4 separate regions of the Homo sapiens genome follow, and all the other regions are linked to region 2. Evidence: promoter capture Hi-C in 16 types of primary human blood cells and fetal thymus (Javierre and others, 2016). All regions are on one chromosome and are shown on one strand. Each heading gives the region's core, a stretch centred on a gene start or on the middle of the fragment in contact. The rest is flanking DNA. Distances are from core to core; before and after follow the strand shown.

Region 1 (3,170 bases), core at 411-2,910, 180 kb before region 2:
CCTATATGGGACTGAGAAAGTTAGTTAGTATGACTAGTTAGCAGTAAACATTGCATTCAGGATGACTACTAACATTAGTGAGGTCTGAGGCAAGAGGACAAATGGAAGACTCTGCTCCCATTCTCTTCCCACTCCTCGCCCCAGCCCACACTAGGAGGGGCTGCTCACGCTTACCTGTGGACACCTGAGCCCACAAGGGCAAGCTCCAGCCACATCTCCTGCTACAATCACAGCCAGTATCCATCCTTAGGAAGAAGTATCTGGAGAAGAAACTCATACAGGCCTTGTCTTGGGAGGGAGTTCTAGGGTACTAGGATTCTGGAGAGTGGTATTAGGCTTAGGGTGGGCCTGTCCCCTTAATCCCATGGTGGACTCCTTGCCCCATGGAAGAGGACCAGAGAGAGGAGGGCAAGAGCAGGGAGCCTGGTGTTCAGGATCTAAAGATTGTACTGATTGCATCTAATCAAAATTAACTCTGAAAAATCTCTTAAATCATCCATAAAGTACAATACTGTACATATGTGTTTTATGTATGCAGCCCTATATTATTATTTTTAATTTTTCCTTGTCCATATTTCCCTATGGCTCTCAATTAATTTAATTTCATCTTCCATGATGTTGGAATCAACACCCACTTACCTGGTTACTTGAACAATGTTTCCTTCTATATCCATGGTGAGTAAACCCTTAAAAGCATTCAGATTTTCTTGATAGATTGGCTTTTAGGCTTGATGACATCTATTGCTCTCATAAGTTAATACATCTATAAGATGACTCCTTGTATATTTTGGAAAATGGCAAGACTCAAAATGACAAGTTGAAAGAAAGGGAAATTTAATGATTCTAGGTTACCAGCTTGAACAACTGGTTTAACAGTGTTACTATTTACTGAGATATGAAAGGTTAGAGGAAGAAGCGGTTTAGATGTATTATAATTCATTCACCTGATTCTCTATTGTTGGGTATTCAGGTTGGCTGCAATATTTTATAACAAGGAACAATAGTCTGATTTGCAGCAAAATCTTTTCACATGTCCTTAATTTCTAAACACAGAATTGCTGGATAAAAATGTGCACATTCTTGAGATTTTATTTTATTTTATTTTATGAGACCGAGCCTCGCTCTGTTGCCCAGGCTGGAGTGCAATGGGGCAATCTCGGCTCACTGCAACCTTCATCTCCTGGGTTTAAGTGATTCTCCCTGCCTCAGCCTCCTGGACCAGCTGGGATTACAGACATGTGCCACCATACCCGCCTAATTTTTGTATTTTTAGTAGAGACAGGGTTTCACCATGTTGGTCAGGCTGATCTCGAACTCCTGACCTCAGGTGATCCGCCCACCCGACCTCAGGTGATCCGCCCACCCTGGCCTCCCAAAGTGTTGAGATTACAGGCGTGAGCCACCACGCCTGGCCCATTCTTGAGATTTTTAATACACGTTTCCAAATGACTTTCAAAAGAGCTGTTTCCTCACACTGTTAACATAAGAGTAGATTTCAAACACTCAAATTCTGTCTCCCTCCCTCTTTCCTTCCGTCCCAGTTTTCCTTTGTTCATTCAATAAGTACCTACTATGTCCCACACAGGGCCTGACATAAATCTAACTTTGCTCCTTGCTAGGGGTTAGGAGATGATCGGGGAGAAGGAAGTGTAATGGAGAACTCTAGAGTTTTTAACATGAGTGACTTGGATATTCTACCCACAAACTTGTTTGATTCTGGACACCAGACAAGATAAGCTAAAATTCCCTCTTTATTTAAATTGGTGGTGCCACTGAGAGTTTGTAAGAAAAAATGTTCAACTTCACGCAAACCAGAAGTAGGACACTGAAAATAGGCTTTGCCCCCAGGGAATTATAATTTAGTGGGTACCATTTTACAATGCAAATTTGGCCCTCTAATTAGCCAAATGGCCACAGCAATTCTCCAGCATATGAGGTAGGTCTGTCCTATCCAGGGATCTGTCTCATGGCCGCTGATAAAGGATGGGGCTGGGCACAGTGGCTCACACCTGTAATCCCAGCACTTTGGGAGGCTGAAGGGACAGATCACCAGTTTAAGAGATCAAGACCATCCTGGCCAACATGGTGAAACCCCGTCTCTACTAAAAATACAAAAATTAGCTAGGTGTGGTGGCACGCGCCTGTAGTTCCAGCTACTCAGGAGGCTGAGGCAGGAGAATTGCTTGAACCCGGGATGCAGAGGTTGCAGTGAGCCGAGATGGTGCCACTTCACTCCAGCCTGGCTACAGAGTAAGACTCTGTCTCAAAAAAAAAAAAAAAAAAAAAAAAAAGGATGGAGCAGGAGGCCCAAGGTCAGGGCAGGAGTCCTGCATCATGAGATCATGAGGGCCCCTTTCTGTGCAGTACAGAGGGACCAGCTTCCACCCTGCTGATTTAAGGGGAAATTTCTAACTACTTGGCTTGAGTACCTAAGTTGCTAGATGTAACTCTGACCTTGAGGATAAAAAGGAAGTTGGTGGACTTCCTTATTGTCATCACTCAGGTAGGAGAGTCCAACCTAACGCTGTCACCTCTCTCAACTGGCACTCAGTGAAACACTTGAGTATGCTCAGTACTGTAGTCACTTCTACCAGAGGTCCGAACTTACTGGAAAAGTTAGGCCTGTGCAAGACTGAAAAATACTGACAATGCACCAGTGTGCTGAAGGAATTCAAAGCAGATTCCTGGCTGGGCGCGGTGGCTCACGCCTGTAATCCCAGCACTTTGGGAGGCCGAGGCGGGTGGATCAAGAGGTCAGGAGATTGAGACTATCCTGGCTAACACGGTGAAACCCCGCCTCTACTAAAAATACAAAAAATTAGCCGGGCGCCGTGGTAGGCACCTGTAGTCCCAGCTACTCGGGAGGCTGAGGCAGGAGAATGGCGTGAACCCAGGAAGCGGAGCTTGCAGTGAGCCGAGATCGCGCCACTGCACTCTGCCTACCTGGGCGACAGATGGAAACTCTGTCTCAAAAAAAAAAAAAAAAAAAAGAGATTTCTGAAGTCTTGTGAACCTAATGCAAGATTGGATTATGAGTGTCGCTGCTCTATTCTCTGAATGTGGGTTACTATATAAACTCCTGTAATCCAGAACTCTTTTAATGACGGTGGCTCTAATGCTTAGTTGAATAACTTGCCAGAGGCTCTCTGACCTCTAGTAATATAACTTAA
Region 2 (3,413 bases), core at 669-3,168:
CAATTCTACACCTTTATATGTTAATATGAAAACTCTGATATACCAAGCCTCTCCTTCCTAACACCTCTACGTATAGTTTTACTTTGCTATTATAACTGAATAGGAATCTTTAACTACACCAAAAAGCCTGACTATAATGCTAGCAGGAAAAAAAAAAGCTAACGGGTAAGCAAACACTCAAAAAAAAAAAAAAAAGACTGGAGGAATAGGATGATAGGATGGATACCTAATAAAACACAAATGTCCCCCATTCATCTGCAATTCTAGTCATTTTCTCTCTAACAGATCTCAGATTTTCAGAACAAGTATGCAGGTTATTTAAAACTGAGTTATATATAGTCATTTAGCAGCAGCAAAAACACTTCTGGCATTATCACAGATGCTAGCTTTCTGGAGGAATTTTTTCCCCCCAAACTAGCGTTTTTCTTCACCAAGAACCAACCATCCTTTATTTCTAAAAACAAGAGCCCTTTTCTGCCCCCTAAAACAAACAAATCACAGACCACAGTTAATGAAACTACGCTAATGAAACTGTGAGATTACATCCCAGGCGTTGTCAGAGCCTATTTTTCATACACCACCACAAGACAGTTTGATGCAGTATTCCTGATTGCTTTTTATAGTATTTGTAAATACACTCGCTAATCCACTAAATTAGGTAATTTACAAACAGGTCCTCTCAGTTATTAGTGGCCAGTAGTCGAGTTCTATTACATTTGATCCTCGTACAGTTGTCTAAACATTTCCACCCAGGTTAAGGGCTCGGATCCGAGAGAAGGAGGTTGGCGAAATTTGGATGGGGGCAGGGTAGAAGCTGAGAGAAATCTCTGCATCTCAGCCCTCAGCGACAACATTCAGCCAGTGCCCACAGAAAAACTAAATTCGGAACCTCTTCCTCCTGTTACACTGGCAACAAAGAGGGAGTTTCCGTAGCGCTCCCGTCACCCACCAGGTGCCCAATCTCCTTCCCAGCCCAGAGTCGGCGCTCCCGCAGGGGCCTCCGAGTGCGGGGAGGCCGCGGGGCCCGGGTCACGGCACTAAGGGGGGATGGGGTGCAAGCGAGCAAGCGAGGTCTGCGGAGCGGGCCGTGGAAGGGCTCCGGGACCCGCTGAAACCATCTGAACCCAGCCAGGGGGCAGCGGGCAAGAGAAAAGGGACAGAATATCTAATGAAGCAGAAACTGGAATTCGGTGGGAGAGGTGAAGAGCTCTTGCTGGGGGTACACCTGCGAGGAGCACAGAAAACGGGCGGCGGATGGCGGGGAGACTCCACGGAGGTGGAAGAGAGGAGCCAGGCCCGGAAGAACAGGGAAGGGGATGCCACCTGGGGCAGAGGAGGCGCCAGTGCAGCCTCTACCTGCAGGCGGGCGGGACGGGCAGCTCAGGTGTGACTGGGAGGAGGGGGCCGACTGGGGAAGGGGCCGGGAAGAGCTGAGGGCGCACTAGGCGCCGCGCAGAGGCGCCTTTGAGTCGGCAGCCGCGGAGCCAGCGCACGGGCATCGGCGGGACCCGGCGGACGGAAAGGCGGAGTGGGGGTCTTTGGACTGCACGGTGCGCTCAGGGGAGGCTGGGGACAGCGAGAGGTATCGGGCGGCGGGCGCCCGCCGCGCGACGCGGCGCACGGGAGGCATCCGGGCGGGCGGCCGGGAGGCGGGAGCCCCTCACCTGCGCGGCGGAGGAGGCGGAGCTGCAGCAGCCCATGGCGGGGCCGAAGGAGCCCGGAGGCGGCGCCGGGCGCGCAGCTACGCCCCGGAGCCCCTCGGCATGCGAGCCGGCGGGCGCCCGGGGAGGGCGCGGCCTGGCACCGCACGGCTAGGCGGCGGCGGCGGCTGCAGCGGCGGCTGGTACTCAAGAGGCGGCGCGGCTAGAGGCAGGCGCCGGCCACATCCCCCGGCGGCGGCGACGGCGGCTACGCGTCTCCTGCTCTGCTCCTGCTGCAGCAGCTGCTCCCCAGCGGAAAGGGGCGGGCGGCGGCGGCGGCGGCGCCTCCCTCTGTCCCCCCGCCTCCCGCCTCCCGCGCCCAGTCCCTCTCCCGCTCCCTCTCCCGGGCCGCCGCCTCCTCAGCGCCGCGCGCGTCTCCCATCAGACTCCCCGCCCCCAGTGCAGCGCCGTGCTGGTGGCAGGGCGGCGGCAGCCAGAACAAGGCCGGGCCCTTCCGCGCGTGTCAGAGGCTGCGCGGCGCCGGGCTTATTTAGCTGTGGCACCGAGGCAGCTCTCTGCCTCGAGGCTGGAGGGCAACGCGGTCTGAGGCAGCCAAAGACCGGGCCAACTCGCTGCCAAAAAGGGGCCGGATTGCTTCCGGATCTAGGAGGCAAGCGGGACTTCTCCCTCTCCCTACTGGACGCACAACTCAGGATCCTGATGGCTTCTTACCGCCCCGTCGGCTGTTTTTTTTCTCCAGAGGAAAGCGTACACAAGAAACCTTTCCTGGAGAAGGAATAGGTGATAAGAAGACGGGAAGAAACAAGCATCTGTTGCTACTGTCCCCATTTTGCTGATGTGGAAACTGAGGCTTGAAAGGGACCAAGAACCTAATGAAATGTTCCCAAGGTTGAAATGGTAATAAATAGCCAGAAATGAGGAAAAGGCAAAAAGTTATCCAGGCTCGCAAGTCAAAGCCATACTGGATCTAAGCTAAACTTTCTTATACAGGATAGTCTACAAAAAACAATAAGGGGACATTAATTTATTCATATTAAAAATACTTACTGAAGACACACTACGTTCCAGTGACTAGTACTGGGAATAAAGAGGCGAGCAAAAGAGACTTACCAAGTTCCTGTTGCTAAATCAGTAAGACTCAAGGAAGTAGCAACAAGTTAGAGTAGACGTGGTAACTACCTTCAAGAAATTTACAATTCCAAACGAGTCGTTAGGAAATACAGTATGAGGTGAAAACAGTTAAAAAGTGAAAGAAATAAAACTAAAGATAATGATGTTAAAAAAAACCCCACATTATCAGGCACTGTTATAGCCTTCATATGTCATTTCATCTTGTCAAAGAATGTCTCAAAAGACAGCCACAGGAAAGAAAAGAAAAACTTTATTTGCAAAGCTGCAAGGGAGTGAGACTTCCAAAAGGACTGATTCACCAAATATGAGACATCAAGTTTTAAAGATTAGTTAAAGTATAGAGGGAAGAAAAGAACACAGAATTAAATTGACTTTACATGCACTGAAAGGGAATCTAAGCCAAGGAAAGTTGGAATGGTAGCCTGTAAGGGGACAGCTACAGAAAGGGCCAGGGAAGAAGAATTCCTAATTGATGTTTTCCTATGCCATTTCCTGAGTTCGTGACTGTGGACGAGTTATCTCTCCAAATCTCATTGTCCGCTTCTGTGAAATGCTGGTAGCAGGGATGACTGCAAAGGCTTGTGGTCAAGATTAAATAACATAAGAAAGTGCTGCTAGGTC
Region 3 (3,444 bases), core at 183-2,682, 140 kb before region 2:
GACAGAGAGAGAGAGGAAGTGAAAGTGAAATTCTTGGAGGGCGGCCACCTCCTCATCTCCACCTACCATCGGCTTTAGCTCTCTGGAATCAGCGACGCCTCCCTTACCAGCTTCTTTCATTGCTTTCCTACTGTTTTCCACAAACTCCTGCAAAATATGGACCATATTGAATAAATTCTTGGGTCCTTTCAGATTTGTTAGTAGATGAATTCTAAAGAACATCTACATTTTTGACTCAATCTTGGTAAATGGATGGCTTAAAAACATAGCAATAAATAATGTTTAGTATCACACATGAGAGTTGCTAAATTTGTAGAAATGGACTCTGCAATTCGCTGATTAAAAAAATCTTCTTTCCATCCATTCATTGTGACAATCTTACTAAGGCTCCAAGAGATAATGTTAGTTCTACCTGGAAGAGAAAATACCTAACATTTTTAAGAGGCTATTTTCTCATACTCAGAATATCATTTTATTTGTTGTTGTTGTTTTTTTCTATATCAAGGTTAAATGAAACAACAAGAACACGTTACTCCATAAGCCTCCACTTTTAAATAACCATAGAAGGTAAAAGAACACATTGATACTGCTAAGCACATAATGCTTTTTTTCTTAACCAAACCATAAACAAACTACTCTTTTTAAAAAAAGTGTCAATCTGACCATGACATTACTTCATGAAGCAGGAAGACAGGGTGTATCAACCAGAACCTATGGTTAGTAGTAGTCGAAATGGGAATGTGCCCAAAGGGAACATTTCTATTCTGTCAACGTTTACGGGGAACTTCTTCATTAAATATCCTCACCATTCCTACAGAGAAAACTGAAGGGTGGAAAACAGTTATTTTTTACTCTGCTTTTGATCAGTGACTTAAAAAACAGTAACACTCTTCTAAATGCTTTAGTCACAAAAGAGATACAATAATCATGATCAAATTCCATTAAGAAAATAACCAGTTAGAATTAGTTTAGACATTAAGAAAATGTCCAGAATTTAGCTGATGTTGCCAGAAAAAGAGAAAATCAGTGCCAAATAGGTCAGCTAAATCATTTGGAATTCTTGCTATTGAAAAGAAAAAAAAAATCTAGGCTGGGCATGGAGGCTCACACCTGTAATCCCAGCATTTTGGAAGGCCGAGGCAGGCAGATCACCTGAGGACAGGAGTTCAAGACCGGCCTGGCCAACATGGTAAAACCCCATCTCTACTAAAAATACAAAAATTAGCCAGGAGTGGTGGCACATGCATGTAATCCCAGCTATTTGGGAGGCTGAGGGAGAACTGCTTGAACCTGGGAGGTAGAGGTTGCAGAGCCAAGACCATGCCACTGCACTGCAGTCTGGGTGACAAAGCAAGACTCCGTCTCAAAAAGAAAAAAAAAAAAATCTAGCTTATTTATTAATACACTTATTTTAGATTTAACTGGATAAAATATGCTCCTGGAAAATGACTTGTTATTTCAATGTATAATGCTTAGTATTCAATATTACCCATTTTGAGATAGAAATATTTCACAGCTTAATAGCAAACTACTATTATTTAGAAAGCATCTTTACTTTGGTAACATTTAACACTGATTATAACAGTACTTAAACCATTTAATAAGGTTTTCAAAATTTTAAAGAAATTTAATTGAGGTTCTAATATGAAAAATCTGCATATATCTGTGTAAAGGTTCAGATCTTGACTAATAAATAACTATACACTCTACCAGTCATGGGTCTGTTATCGGTATTCATCACAAAATGCTTTCAATTTGGCCTACCATATTTAAGATAATGAGTTTTAACCAGGGTTGACAGCAGTAATGTTTGGGGCAGTGGTGGATAGAGAAAGACAGGTAGGCACTAGGACCTGGGAAACAGGATATTTTGTCTTTGAGCCCCATTTCAGGAAAAGGCTAGAAGCTAGTTTAAAAAGTCAATTCAAATCTATCTAACTACAGAGAGAGGGGCAGCAAGAATAGGGTGAACTTAGGACTATTAACCAGTACTGCTCTAGCTAGGTGGATCTGAAATGATCTTGTCCATGCCAAGAAGCCGTCCTCCCTGACTTACCCTAGATTAACCTCATTTATGAGTCAGTGCTATGGGGTTAATTCTAAATTACTCAGTTGCATATAGTGTGAATTAAATATAGAGAATGTTTTACAAAATATTTTTATTGGTATTTTTATCCCTAAAATAGGAAACGGCATTTGAAGTACTTACCATCAGCACTTTATCCATATAGAATTCTCTGCCAGGGCTCCCATCATTGTATTTTGTATCAATGGCAAAACACAAGAATAATACATCCACTACCATTTCATAAATAGACAGGAAGCAATGAGCGACTAGGAAAGCAAAGAGGCAGACGATGATCAGAGGCAGCACCCATACTGTGTAGTCCTGCTGGTAGTTGAGCAGCATAATCCCAGCTAAACCTGTGCTGCAGACTATCAGCACCTGAAGCAGAGAGAACAAAGATCATATTTAATATCCTACTGAAGAAAGCCACTCTTTTTTCACCATTTGCAGACTTAAAATTCTACTATTTATAAATGATGGTTGCATGAGGCCATTCCATCTCAAATGAGGAAATATAATCCACATATTCTCATATACACCCAGAGTTATACATGCTTATCATATAATATAAATTTTAAAATCATACTTTAAATGATTCTGGTTTAAACATAATTAAGTTTTCCAAATGCTATGCTGCACCCTAAAACTTAATCTATTTAGAATCTGTGGCAATTTTTAAGATAAATGTATGCATATTTTAGAAAAAATTTACAAACTCTTAGCACTCAGAAAAAAAGTGATATTTCAGTGTAATGGTATGTATTTTTTCTAAGCATTTTCACATATATGAAATAGTATTATATAAACAAATCACTATAAGCTTTTCATTAATATACATAGAAGTATCATTATAAATGCTTCATATTTACTCAGCTACATAATTTCATTTTATGAGTGATTTAAAATACATGTAACCATTCTCTTACTGTTAGAGATTTATATTGTTTTCAGATATAAATAATGCTGCAACAAACATGTATAGTCTTAGAACTTTTTCTGTGTTTCGTATTTTATTTCACATAGAATATGTGGTAAATATAATTTGCCATGAAGTGTATATTTGGACTCTCTGTGAAGAAAGAGGTTGCCAAAAACATCCATGCTAAAAGAATAAAAGAAATAGCCAATTTAGTTATTGTCAAGAACCACCCACTCTGATGCTTATTTCACATGCAGCATTTTAAATTTTTTGTGGTTTTTAAAATACATTTTATTCCAGCTTTTCAATAACCCTATGAATGGTTTATGGCAAATATTATCATCCCATTTTATAGCCTTGGAAACACACTTACAGATGCCACCCGACCTGAGTAGAAAAAAAAGAGTAGATCCAAGGTCAAGGTCATAAAAGTAGGAAAAAAGAACAGATCCTACTC
Region 4 (3,312 bases), core at 676-3,175, 200 kb before region 2:
ATATCACAAATAAGATACATTACTACTACTACTAAGAAAGAGAAGCTAATTCTTTGCTACCTCTCAGGAAACTGCACGTGGTAACCTGTAGGTACCCTAACACATCATTCGAAATGAGAACAAATAGGTTCAAATCTTAGCCTTAGGGCTAGTAGCATGACCTTCCAGGAGTCACAACTCATTAAAGTAAGGAATAATGCATCCCTGATAAAGTATGATGATCAATATTAAAACACATTTTTTTGTATTTTATGGGACACAGTATTTTAGTGGTCATACTTTGTAAACTTTAAAATGCTGTGTTTTCAGAACAAACTATTTTATCAGATTTTTACTATGACACTATAAAATACTCTTACTTCTACTGCATAGATGAGGAAACAGATTAATCACAGTTAAGTGACTTGCTCCTTATCACAGAGCTAGTAAATAGCATCCTGGAACCCATGTCTCCGGACTTTGCTCCTTCACTTGACCTCTGCTAATGTCCATTCAAATATCATTTCTTTTATCTAATAAGCTGAGAGATGTTTTACAAATTTAGGCAGAGACAATATTTTAAACCTATACATACTCAAAATACACAAAATCTAATTTTTAAAAAATGCCTTAAGAATAGTCATGCATTCCAAGGTGAGTTTCAAGACCAACACATACAATGAAATCATATGCATATTTGTTAAATACTGTAATAGTCAATGCTCAACACATCATTATTCTCTCATGCCCTCAGTGAAGTGATCCTCAAGAAGGTGAATGTAGACAAAATTGTAGAAAACGTTGTTCTAAGTCTTTCCCGTGCTTTCTAATAATAGAAAAGAATAGTCTCTTAGATATGTCTTTGTTTTCCCTGCTACATTATTAATACTCCTTGTTTTTTCTTTCCTACCCTGTACTATATTTCAATTACGTTATAGTCTAACAAAGAGAACAGGGTGGTTATTTTCATATGGAGATTATGACTGAATAATTCACTTCTAACTGTATTCAAGACATTGGCTTTGTTCTCCAAATACTTCTGAATTGAACCTTTACGATTATATAACCTTTCCTCAACTGTTCGGAAAGTATAAAACATTCCACAACGACCCCTAAGTAACTGTGCCCAGCAACACCAACTGGTCAGAGAGTGGGAAGGCTGCCCTAACAATTGAAGTCTTTTCCCTCCATTCAACGAACACTAAACACTAAGATCTACTTAGGAAAAGTCATGGGAAGGGGAGCGGTGGGCGGTACAAAGGAGATTCGGTCCCTGACCTAAAGAGCGTGGTGCTGAGACGAGACTTGGTCGAGGAGAAAGCCCCAGCTTTCGGCGTCAGCAGGGAGACACCAAAAAGGCTGTGCCTCGGTTTCCTCACCTGCTGAGGAGGGATACACCCCCACCAGCACGCTCGCAGTCTGCAGGCATGAAAACCGGCCTAAAGCGCTGCAGAGTGGCTGATTTTAAAAGGGGGATGGCTCCGTTTCTCCTCCAGAGTCAGGGCCCCGGACAGCGCGCAGAGCAGAGGCCAGCCCGAGTCACCGGGCGCGGTCCCCGCATCCGTGTGGGCGCCTCTTAGCTCCCGCCCAGAGAGCGGCCGGGCGGCCTTGCCCTCCGCAGCAGCAGCCCGGACGCCCGGCCAGGCCCACCCCGCGCACCCACAGCCCACGGGCCCAGGCGCCCCGCCCACCCTGTGCCGGCCCGGCTTGTCTCGGTAGCCCCGGGCTCCCCTCCCCCGCTTACTTTCTGGGAGTCCATGGCGAGTGGCTAAGCCCACTGGGCTCGAACCCGAGACGACGAACCGTGTGAGGAGGCTCAGCGAGATCGCACACCCCAAGACCGCTACTCACTGCACTGCCCCAGCCCGCACCGGCACCGCCCGGCCCCACCCGTCCGCGCCCAGACCGCGCGCGCCGTAGTCACGCCGCGGTTGCCAGGGTGAAAGGGCGGCCCGCAGAAGGGAGGGGCTGAGGAGCGCACCGCGCCTGCGCGCAGCGGCTGACTGCTCCCGGGAAGTAGCCGTGGAGGGTGGGGAGCGCCGCCCGTCTGTCTACCGCTAGTGCCTCTGCAGGCTGCACTCCCTTCCCCCATCCTTTTTCCTCCAGCGATAGCGGTCTCTCCGGCCCTGAAATAGGCCACTGGGCATCCAGCAGCCGGCCGGTGCGGAGGGCCCGGGAAGGAAAGAGTATCTGGTGCTGGAGACGGATTAGCCCACCCTCCACCCAGCACGCATCTGAAGCCCCTCCCCACACTATCCTTCGAGGGGCAGCCAGGCTTGAGCGGACCCAGCGGTCCAAAGGGAGGAAAAGGGCTGGGGTGGGGATGTAGCGAAAACGTGGGAAAAGACCTTTAGGGGATGTGGTGGAAACGTGGGAGGAGGGATATAGGGATGAGAGTGGCGGAAACGTGGGTGTGGGATTAATATGAGCTTTGGGGCCTGGCACAGTTTTTCCCGGGGACCCACCCATCCTCCCCGGCACCTCGCTACCTGTATGATTTTGAGCAAGTCAGTCTGCCTGAGCTTGTTTCATCTGTAAAATGAGAGAAATAATGCGGACTTTGCAGAGGATTGTGAGGATTAAATAACGTATGGTACATAATTAGTAGTGAATAAATTATAGTCATTCTCTTTTTTTTTTTTTTTTTTTTTTTTTGGAGATGGAGTCTCGGTCTGTCACCGAGGCTGGAGTGCAGTGGTGCCATCTTGGCTCACTGCAACCTCTGCCTCCCGGGTTCCAGGAATTCTCGTGCCTCAGCCTCATGAGTAGCTGGGATTACAGGCGCCCCCACCACACCTGGCTAATTTTTTGTACTTTTAGCGGAGACTGGTTCTAGCCATGTTGCTTAGGATGGTCTCGAACTCCTAAGCTCAGGCAGTCCGCCCACCTCAGCCTCCCAAATTGCTAGGATTACAGGTGTGGGTTACAGGGCATGTGCCAGGCCCATTATAGTCATTCTTAGTGGGGAGTTAGAACCTGCTCGGTGTGGCCTGAGGCATCAATGAAGATTTTAGAAAGCTTGGAATTTAGTAGGCTTGAGAAAGTTCTTCCTCAAGCAGACAGGCCTCATCTTCCATTTGGATGACTCTGGAGAGGCTCACAAAAGTTCAATTAGACAGTCATTTATGATGAATGAATAAAAGGGAAATACATATTGAGTACCTATTCTGTACCAGTTCTACAAACAAAATTCAGTAGTGGGCAAGGCCCTGTTTCTCTCACAGAGCTTACAATCTAGTATAGAAGACCAACCAAAAAAAAAAAAAAAGTTAACGTGCTAGACGGTTATAGGTGCTAAAATTAAAACTTAGGCCAGGCATGGTGGCTCACACC

The links. Contacts are between HindIII fragments. The CHiCAGO score rates a contact against its expected background, and 5 or more counts as called.
Region 1: a fragment that was not itself captured here is called in contact with the fragment with the promoter of SLC44A1 in region 2 in 1 of 17 cell types (M2 macrophages); the score reaches 5.1 in M2 macrophages.
Region 3: a contact is called between a fragment that was not itself captured here and the fragment with the promoter of SLC44A1 in region 2, in 1 of 17 cell types (M0 macrophages). The highest score is 5.0, in M0 macrophages.
Region 4: a contact is called between the fragment with the promoter of FSD1L here and the fragment with the promoter of SLC44A1 in region 2, in 8 of 17 cell types (activated CD4 T cells, naive CD8 T cells, total CD4 T cells and 5 more). The highest score is 7.9, in activated CD4 T cells.

Annotation. Positions count from the first base shown.
Region 1 is chr9:105,421,403-105,424,572 of GRCh38, reverse strand. It overlaps a transcript of SLC44A1 not described here. Among named protein-coding and RNA genes, the nearest start is that of FSD1L, 25 kb to the left of the region's middle. The HindIII fragment of the contact is 4,715 bases long and covers 1-3,170 here.
Region 2 is chr9:105,243,156-105,246,568 of GRCh38, reverse strand. SLC44A1 (solute carrier family 44 member 1) reads right to left here and starts at 1,918. Exons shown (of 16, transcript NM_080546.5): 1 at 1,665-1,918. The coding sequence starts at 1,700. LOC112268038 (a long non-coding RNA gene) reads left to right here and starts at 976. Exons shown (of 3, transcript XR_002956866.2): 1 at 976-1,550. RefSeq lists silencers at 976-1,055, 1,396-1,535, 1,546-2,145 and enhancers at 468-1,371, 1,372-2,276. The HindIII fragment of the contact is 7,272 bases long and covers 1-3,413 here.
Region 3 is chr9:105,382,125-105,385,568 of GRCh38, reverse strand. It overlaps SLC44A1 (solute carrier family 44 member 1), which reads right to left. Exons shown (of 16, transcript NM_080546.5): 14 at 2,210-2,446; 15 at 67-147. Among named protein-coding and RNA genes, the nearest start is that of FSD1L, 64 kb to the left of the region's middle. The HindIII fragment of the contact is 2,916 bases long and covers 1-2,890 here.
Region 4 is chr9:105,446,647-105,449,958 of GRCh38, reverse strand. FSD1L (fibronectin type III and SPRY domain containing 1 like) reads right to left here and starts at 1,925. Exons shown (of 14, transcript NM_001145313.3): 1 at 1,724-1,925. The coding sequence starts at 1,738. RefSeq lists a silencer at 1,435-2,044. The HindIII fragment of the contact is 4,464 bases long and covers 1-2,999 here.